Linked DNA regions of Homo sapiens: regions 1 and 3 are each linked to region 2. Evidence: promoter capture Hi-C in human tissues and cell types (Jung and others, 2019). All regions are on one chromosome and are shown on one strand. The core of a region is centred on a gene start or on the middle of the fragment in contact, and the rest is flanking DNA. Distances in the headings are between cores, read along the strand shown.

What was found. The method cuts DNA at HindIII sites, captures the fragments that hold promoters and counts their contacts. A contact is called where the count stands out against the background at its distance.
Region 1: a contact is called between a fragment that was not itself captured here and the fragment with the promoter of NDUFB6 in region 2, in 1 of the 25 tissues and cell types used here (lymphoblastoid cells).
Region 3: a fragment that was not itself captured here is called in contact with the fragment with the promoter of NDUFB6 in region 2 in 1 of the 25 tissues and cell types used here (H1 embryonic stem cells).

What each region holds. Positions count from the first base shown.
Region 1 is chr9:32,906,813-32,910,083 of GRCh38, reverse strand. No RefSeq gene overlaps it. Among named protein-coding and RNA genes, the nearest start is that of APTX, 93 kb to the left of the region's middle. RefSeq lists a silencer at 975-1,175 and an enhancer at 2,393-3,271. The HindIII fragment of the contact is 8,299 bases long and covers 1-3,271 here.
Region 2 is chr9:32,571,453-32,574,532 of GRCh38, reverse strand. NDUFB6 (NADH:ubiquinone oxidoreductase subunit B6) reads left to right here and starts at 1,374. Exons shown (of 4, transcript NM_002493.5): 1 at 1,374-1,652. The coding sequence starts at 1,473. RefSeq lists enhancers at 967-1,016, 1,287-1,826. The HindIII fragment of the contact is 12,015 bases long and covers 1-3,080 here.
Region 3 is chr9:32,155,991-32,159,210 of GRCh38, reverse strand. No RefSeq gene overlaps it. Among named protein-coding and RNA genes, the nearest start is that of ACO1, 230 kb to the left of the region's middle. The HindIII fragment of the contact is 4,188 bases long and covers 1-3,220 here.

The DNA of each region.
Region 1 (3,271 bases), core at 692-3,191, 330 kb before region 2:
TTCAATCATTGATACACTTGTTCAAACAATCACTTTTTCTTATTTTATTTTATTTTATTTTATTTTATTATTATTATACTTTAAGTTTTAGGGTACATGTGCACAATGTGCAGGTTAGTTACATATGTATACATGTGCCATGCTGGTGTGCTGCACCCATTAACTCGTCATTTAGCATTAGGTATATCTCCTAATGCTATCCCTTCCCTCTCCCCCCACCCCACAACAGTTCCCAGAGTGTGATGTTCCCCTTCCTGTGTCCACGTGTTCTCATTATTCAATTCCCACCTATGAGTGAGAACATCCGGTGTTTGGTTTTTTGTCCTTGCGATAGTTTACTGAGAATGATATTTCCAATTTCATCCATGTCCCTACAAAGGACATGAACTCATCATTTTTTATGGCTGCATAGTATTCCATGGTGTATATGTGCCACATTTTCTTAATCCAGTCTATCACAAACAATCACTTTTTCAAACAATCATCGATGCAGTGGTGGAAAGGAAGTGTTAACAGTCTTTAGAGCGGGCTTTACACTAAATTCTGGCCCTCTGACTCTCACCAGCCAGGGTTCTTGGTCTTTGGCTCTTACTCTTTTGTTTACATTTCTGGAAGATTCTACAGCCAAGCCCAAGAAAGCTTTCCTTACAGGAATGGTGCCCCTTGAAAAAAACTAGAGGATGAGCTTGTGGGTCCGATCTGCTGGATGACTTGGCTTCCTCTCCTCTCTTTCAAAGCTCAGGCAGGCATACTGGAAGTCTTATGGCACCCGGGGTATTGGGCTTCCTTGTAGTTGAATGCCAGGAATGTTGTTCTTGTTTTCGGCCTAAAAGGAAAACACACATGTATTTATGTCTCTTGGATAACAGGAGTGCAAGACCTTCTCTTTTGATTCCCTCCAAAGTTTTAAATTCAGCATCAGATGATTATTTTTAAAAAATTAAAATCTGCCCCAGTGGTCGGGTGCGGGGAGCAGATGAGAGCCACTATCATATCATTTTCACTCTGTTGTCCAGGCTGGAGTGCAGTGGCACGATCTTGGCTCACTGTAACCTCACCTCTTGGGCTCAAGCCATCCTCCTGCCTCAGCCTCCCAAGTAGCTGGAACTACAGGCATGCGCCACCATGCCTGGCTAATTTTTGTATTTTTTGTAGAGATGGGTCTTGCCACGTTGCCCATGCTAGTCTTGAACTCCTGAGCTGAAGCAATCCACCTGCCTTGGCCTCTCAAAGTGCTAGGATTATAGGCGTAAGCCACCATGCCCGGCCTCAAATTTCATTTTTAGTAGTTTATTTTTGGTGTTTTGTTGTATATTGATCTTGTTTACTAGTAAACTTGATCAGTTCCCTTATTTATAGATTGTTTTCTCTGAGAGAAGTTTCTTAGTATTAGTCTTTCTTCTTCCTCAGTGGAAGAATTCATCAGTACAACCAACTGGATCTGGAGATTCCTTTGTGGAAAGACTTAAAATGATAGATTCAGTTTCTTTAATAGCTAAAGCACCATTCAGATTTTCTGATCTTTCTGAGGCAGTTTTAATAAGTTTTATTTTTCCAGGAGTTTGTCCATTTCATCTAATTTTCCAAATTTATTGGCCTAGGGTTGTTCTAATATCCCATTAGTAACTCTTTGATGTTTGTGGGGTGTAGGCCATTTTTGTAGTGAGGCCATTTTTGTTCCCTTACTTATGTAATTTGTGCTTGATTTCTCTTTTTTTATTGGTCTTGCTAGATAATTATTCCTATTTTTTCAGTGTTGAAGGGAAAGTTACTGAGTATCAGGCTGTCTTCCCCAGGCCTCCTCTCTTCAGGAATCTTGGCTATTTAGGTCCTGGCTGTCTTGGCAGGCTCCAACCCAGCTCCACAAGATTGCCAGCTTCTTTGCCTCTTAGCATTCATTCTCTGCCTGCCTTCTCAGCAACCCTACTCCCTGACCCCCTACAACCCCGGCCACCCTAGGAGTCATTAATGCCTTGAGGGCGAAAGAGGTATAAAGAATATTGGACTCACTTAGTCAGCTTCTTTTTTCTTTGGAATCTTAGCCTTTCAAATTCTGGATATTTTTGACAGCTCTCTGATAATGTTAAACAGACAGTTTAAATCTCAGACCCTTTATCTATCACCCTCCTACCCTCTCATCATACCCTCCTCAGCCCTAGACAACCATTAATCTACTTTCTGTATCTATATAGATTTGCCTATTCTGGACATTTCATATAAATGGAATCAGATAGTAAGTGGTCTTTTATGACTGGCTTTGCATAATGTTTCAAGGTTTCTCCACGTTGTAGCCCTTCCCGGTATTTCATCCTTTTTTATTCCTTGGCAAATTGTCACCATCCTTTCAAGTTTGGATTCACTTTTAACATTTTATCCTCTGCACTTTCAAGGTTGTGAAATATCTTTGAGAGTTTCTTTAACCTGACATTTTTGCCAGCATCCCTTTCTCTGGGACATCTTTGTGCTTTTGTCATAGCCACTCTCTTGTTTGAGAGCATCATAACCTACTTTCCTTAACTAATTCTTGAAATCTTGTTTCAAATTTCACGGCAGAAAACTTATTTTCACCAGCTACTTAATCAGATAGCTTACTGTAAATCATTCATTCTGGCATCTGAAATGATGAAACCAGTCTTTATTGGCAGTAGAAGTTTCTTTGGCTTCCTTAGAATCACTGTTTTCTTTCAGCATGGCAATGATCACACTTTGGGATGCTAGCTGAACTGATTGAGATTATGTTTTATTGCAGCCCTCGATTCAAAGTGAGAGGTGAAGCTGACTGGACTTCTGGGTCGGGTGGGGACTTGGAGAACTTTTCTGTCTAGCTAAAGGATTTTGTAAATGCACCAGTCAGCGCTCTGTGTCTAGCTAAAGGTTCGTAGACTCACCAATCAGTGCTCTGTGTCTAGCTAATCCGGTGGGGACCTGGAGAACTTTTCTGTCTAGCTAAAGGATTGTAAATGCACCAATCAGTGCTCTGTGTCTAGTTAAAGGTTTGTAAACGCACCAATCAGCACTCTGTAAAAACGCACCAATCAGTGCTCTGTGTCTAGCTAATCAGGTGGGGACCTGGAGAACTTTTCTGTCTAGCTAAAGGATTGTAAATGCACCAATCAGCGCTCTGTGTCTAGTTAAAGGTTTGTAAATGCACCAATCAGCACTCTGTAAAAACGCACCAATCAGCGCTCTGTGTCTAGCTAAAGGTTTGTAAACACACCAATCAGCACTTGTAAAAATGGACCATTCGGCTCTCTGTAAAATGGACCAATCA
Region 2 (3,080 bases), core at 125-2,624:
TATGAAGTAAGATGTTTCCAGAGATGTCTAGATTCTATCCCTGTCTCCTCTATCCTATTTATTTCCTCCACCATAGGTAGCATCTTTAAAAACCTCAATTGTTTTCATTCCCATTATTTTGAAAATTTAAGAAAATATGTATATATATTGAAATTACCACCATCTTTCTCTTTTTGGGTAAAAGCATACTGTACAAATTCCTATCCATTTTTTTTCCACTTTGTAATGTATTCTGGAGATCACACCACAGATGTATATAGAGTTCTTCCTTATTACTTTTGACGATTGTATTAGCATTTCATTGCTTTGTTGTGTGAAAGTTTTTGGGAAGCCACTGTTTTGGACTAGCTTCACGCACTAGGCCCCAGCAGACCAGACCAAACCAGAATGGAGTCGTTTGTGCTAAGTACCACACAATCAAACTGAACTTTGAAATGGGCCAGTTTCCCAAAAAATAGGAAATTCCCTTAAGTCTGAGTCAGTGAAACAAGGAAGTTTCTTCTGCTTTAACCCTAAAAGTAACTTTGAAACGATGAGTCCACTTTTTGTTCGGTTTCTGCTTTCTTCAGCCCCTATTTGCCAATAAAACCAACCGCCTCTGCTCAGCTGATCAGAACACTCATTCTACTTTATAGAATGAGGTGTTTTTTGATTCTAGAATCACGAATAAGAGTCAATTAAGATTTTTAAACTAATTCGTTGTAATGCTGTCTTTTGACTGTTGTACTACAATTTATTCAAGCAGTCCTTTATTTAGGAATTTGGGGGTAATTTCCAATATTTTGGTATTATGAATCGTGCTGAATAGTCGTGCATGCTCTTTCATATTTTCACCACACGTATTTTTGGGTGAAAGCATGAATTCATCTATGCAATTTTGCTAGATATTAAGCTACTCTTTTCACTATTCCTGTACAGATGGAGGGACAGATGAGACAGCTGCCCAGGGCACTTCAGCAGTTACTGGCATAGCTGGGATTTGAACTGGGATGTAACTATTTTCATACACTCTCTAGGTCATTCCAAGGTGGGAGAGGCAAGCAAATAATTTTGAATCTGGCCAGCATATTCACTGAAACATTTATGCTTATCCTTCCTCCTCCCAGCATACAAGTTCTTCCTTAGCAAAACCTCCAGTCCTCTAATTTAGCATACTTTCGTCTAATCTGTCACTTTCCTCAGGCCCCACAACTACGAGTACTCCTTGTCCCCACCCGGTCCTAATTTGGTCGGGTATAGCGGAGGTGGGCGTAGAGAGAACTGGAGGTGGAGACCTTTGTGCATGCCCACACACTGCTTTCCTCGCGAGGAATCTGGGGCCCTTGCAGAGGCGGAACCAGGATGTGACGTAATAACCGCGCGCGGCGCTCGGCGTTCCCGCAAGGTCGCTTTGCAGAGCGGGAGCGCGCTTAAGTAACTAGTCCGTAGTTCGAGGGTGCGCCGTGTCCTTTTGCGTTGGTACCAGCGGCGACATGACGGGGTACACTCCGGATGAGAAACTGCGGCTGCAGCAGCTGCGAGAGCTGAGAAGGCGATGGCTGAAGGACCAGGAGCTGAGCCCTCGGGAGCCGGTGCTGCCCCCACAGAAGATGGGGCCTATGGAGAAATTCTGGAATAAATTTTTGGAGAATAAATCCCCTTGGAGGAAAATGGTGAGTGACAGACCTCTCCGGTCCCCCCCAACACATCCCACTGCTGCCGGCAGCCTGAACACTGAACGTCCGCTCCCTGCAGCCACACCAAGGACTGATAACGCTCAGTGCTCTGGGACACTGGCCAGTCCCGAGAGTCCTCCTGGAGTCTCGGGAGGCAGGAGTCCAGGAATATGTATGGCTTTGAGAGAATCATGCCTTTTACTGTCAAGTACAGTGGACGGGGGCGAATTTTAATACTTAGGTTTTCCAGGACGCTGCACGTTTGGTTCTCTTTTGACTGTAGAAATCTTCCCTCAGAATAATAACCAAGGACTCGCTAGAATTAAAATTCTGTGATTTAAGTATTTGAGGACACTTGTCTGACTTTTAAGTGTGAGGTTCTAGAGACCAAGTAACACAGTATCCAACCACCAGAGGGCACAGCCAGCCCCTAGCTGATAGTACAGCCCCATGTGATCCCCGTAAAAGACAGGGTCCTGTTGGTATGCCTTGTGAGTCACATTCAAGAGCTACCTTTCTAAACTACCGTTCTGTACTTTTAACACAGTGTTTCATTAAAAAAATCGCATTTTGGGCTTTGAAGAAAATCACTCATTCAAGAACTTTATTTTCAAGGCCTCTGGGTATTTTCTTGAGGACTGTTATGGATGATAAACATCTCAGAATTGCTTTCAGTTACCTGCAACACTTACTGATGACAGGATAATAGTAGTAACAATACTACGTAACACACGGGTGCTTGCTGTGTGCTTGGCACTCTACTGGGGGTTTTACATGTGTTACTTCATTTCTTTATTCCTGTAAGGTAGATATTCCTAATCCTCATTTTAAATGTGAAGAAACTGAGGCCTACAAAGCTTCAGTGATTTGCTGGTGGTCAGGGAGCTAGGAATTGAATATGAGTTCATATTGTAATCAACATGTATCTGATTCTTACTGTGCTACAAAGTCTAGTGCAATAGAATTGTTGAAAATTTTTCTGAGAAAGTGATATTGGATACTTATTTATGGTGGTAAAATTCAACTCTTCTCCCACCCTTTGTATCCCTGACATTATCGGAATATTGGCAGTCACTGATTTAAAGTTGACATCCCATCCATCAGCAAGTGATATAAGGAAGTAAATAAATAATAATGTGTCGAAGTTCACCTTACCTTACTTTAATTTATTCTTTTATAATCATATCTGTTATAATTCTTAGATTCTGGATTGTCCCTTCCTTGAATGGATAGGTGTTTTTTAATCAAGTTGGAAGACATGGGAAAGTTCCATTTTTAGTTCTTTTTTAAAATAGTGTTGCAGAGGGCATTTTGGAGTGAGTTTGGGACACCCCATCTTAGTATGTAAAACGTCCTTTTTCCAGCATTGGCGTTGTCAAGGTTGTCTGCCTTATACCTAAAATGATGTGAGTGTCATTGATCAAT
Region 3 (3,220 bases), core at 103-2,602, 420 kb after region 2:
GTTTAAGAAAACAAGAAAATTAAAATGTCATCAGAATGTTACTTTTAAAAATAACCATTTGTTGAAAGTAGAATTTAGAACTGTTTGCATGGTCTTCTGGAAGATGAACATAAAGTTCCACATATCAAAATATGTGTGATTCAGTACAAATTGTTTACAGAGGAAAACTAATGCATTTGCTATCTGTTAAAAACCATTAGCAGAAAACAAATTTTGTGTTAATTAATAATGCTTCTTAATACTACATGAAAATAGGTAATTATAGTATGCACATGTGATTTGCAATAAAAGATAAAACTGAAATAATTGCTTATGTTACTTGTGTACTAACACATGCATTAAAAGAACACCTACAGTGCATTAATCATATTTCAAAATATAGAAATTATTGATACTTAACATTATGAAGCTTATTTATTTTTATTATAATCCTATTCTCTTTTAACATAAAGGTTGTTGATTTTATGATTATTAAACACTCAGACATTGAAGACAATTTGAAACATGGAAAATTACAAATAAAATACAACCAGTAAACTAACACCTAGAAATACCTAATCTCGAATTTTCATTCTTAAATAGTTATTATCTATTACTCCTGTAATGTCAAATGCCAATATGATAAATACATATTTTTCTATACTTATTATATCTGTGAGGATGGACTGGTTATACTGCAGTAAGAACCCTGAGCCTTGATATTTTTAAAGAAAGTACTATTTCCAGATTTTGCTCCATCAGCTGTTGGCCATTTTCTTTGTCATCCTCGTGAGTTCATGAGGTGACATAGCAGCTGCTTACTATTGAAAAAAATGGTCAGTCCCTGTGGTGGGGAGAAAGAGAGGGTGGCAAATTGTGCCCTGATTCATAGAACTTTCACCTGAAAGTGATAAATACCACATCAGCTTATTTTGAAGCATGTCATTTAATTCAAAGCGGGGGTGAAACTTCAGTTCACTATTTACCTGGAATGAGAATAAAAATATTTTGTGAAGAGTTTTCAATGACTATCACAGTTATACAAGTATGTGAGAATATTGGCAGTTAACTGTGAAAAAAACAGAAACAAGAAAGTATAAGAAATAATTTGAAAAATCTTTGTAAGTGCTAATCCAGCCTCATACTTCCAACAACTTTATCCAATTCTTTGCTACAATAATCAATTTTGCTCATTTGACTTTTGCCAGCTTCCTAAAATACGCTGTTACTTTTTAATTTATTGAAAAGCCATGCTCTTAATTATTCCAAACATGTATTTAACACTGACTCTAAATCTTAGACTTTTCAAAAATTGTTCTATAATTATCTGTGTTTATCATAGGTTAGTTTATTATCTTAACACCCTCATGTCTGAGTCAGCTTTGCAATTCTTAGATAAGTGAAAGTAATCAAAATTAGGATCTATCTTACTAATTTTTTTTTGTCTGTTTGCTGCTATCTCTAGTACAGATAAAATTTTCACCAAAATAAGATTTTGGAAAGAAAATGGTACTAAATTGCTTCATTGAGACAAGAATAGGAAGTACAGTATCCTGCAACATTACCAGAGTTGTTTATCAGTTCCAGGAGCCTTTTGGCAGAGTCTTTAAGATTTTCTAGGTATCCAATTATATCATCAGCAAAGAGAGATAGTTTGACATATTTTCTTATTTGGATACCTTTTATTCATTTTTCTTGCCTGCTTGCATGATAGTCCTACTGGATAGGACTTCCAGTACTATGCTGAATAGGAGTGGTGAGGGTGGACATCCTTGTCTTCTTCCATTTCTCAAGGAGAATGGTTTGAATTTCTGCCCATTCAGTATAATGTTGGCTGTGGGTTTGTTATAGATGGCTCTTATTAAGTTGAGGTATGTTCCTTTCATGCCTTGGTTGTTGAGGGTCAATGTACAAAAATCAGTAGCATTTCTATACACCAACAATGTCCAGGCTGAGAGGGAAATCAAGAACACAATCCCATTTATAATAGCCACAAAGAAAATGAAATACCTAGGAATACAGCTAATCAGGGAGGTGAAAGATCTCTAAGAGGAAAACTACAAAACATTGCTGAAAGAAATCAGAGATGACACAAATAATTTGAAAAACATTCCATGCTCATGGATTGGAAGAATCAATATCATAAAAATGGCCATACTGCCCAAAGCGATTTACAGATTCAATACTATTCCTATCAAACTATCTACATCACTCTTCACAGAATTAGAAGAAACTTTTCTAAAATTTATATGGAACCAAAAAAGAGCCTGAATAGCCAAAGCAATTCTAAGCAAAAAGAACAAAGCCAGAGCCATCATACTACCTGACTTCAATCTATACTATAAATTCACATTAGCCAAAACAGCTTGTAACTGGTACAAAAAGAGACACATAGATTAATAGACTAGGATAGAAAACTCCAATATAAAGCCACACACCTACAACCATCTGATCTTCGACAAGGCTGACAAAAACAAGCAATGCGGAAGGAATTCCTTATTCAATAAATGGTGCTGGGAAAACTGGCTAGCCATAAGCCAAAGATTGAAGCTGGATGGCTACTACCTTTCACTACATACAGAAATAAACTCAAAAGGGATTAAAGAATTAAATGTAAGACCTCAGACTATAACAATCCTACAAAACAACTTAGGGAACACCCTTTTTGATACTGACCTTGGCAAATAATTTTTGGATAAGTCCCCAAAAGCAATTGCAACTAAAACAAAAATTGACAAGTTGGACCTAATTAAACCAAAGAGCTTCTGTACAGCAAAAGAAACTATCAACAGGGTAAACAGACAACCTACAGAATGGATAGGTTATCTCAACAAAGGCTGACGATAGCCTAATATAAAGAATCTATAGGGAACTTAAACAAATTAACAAGCAAAATATAAATAACTCCATTAAATAACGGACAAAAAACATGAACCTACACTTCTCAAGAGAGGCCGGACACTGTGGCTTACACCTGTAATCCCAGCACTTTGGGAGGCTGAGGCGGGTGGATCACCTGAGGTCAGGAGTTCGAGACCAGCCTGGCCAACATGGTGAAACCCGTCTCTACTAAAAATACAGAAATTAGCTGGGTGTGGTGGCAGATGCCTGTAATCCCAGCTGCTGCAGGAGAATCTCCTGAACCCAGGAGGCAGAGGTTGCAGTGAGCCTAGATTGCACCATAGCATTCCAGCCTGGGCAACAAGCGCAAAACTCCATCTCCCCCCACCCCAAAAAAAAA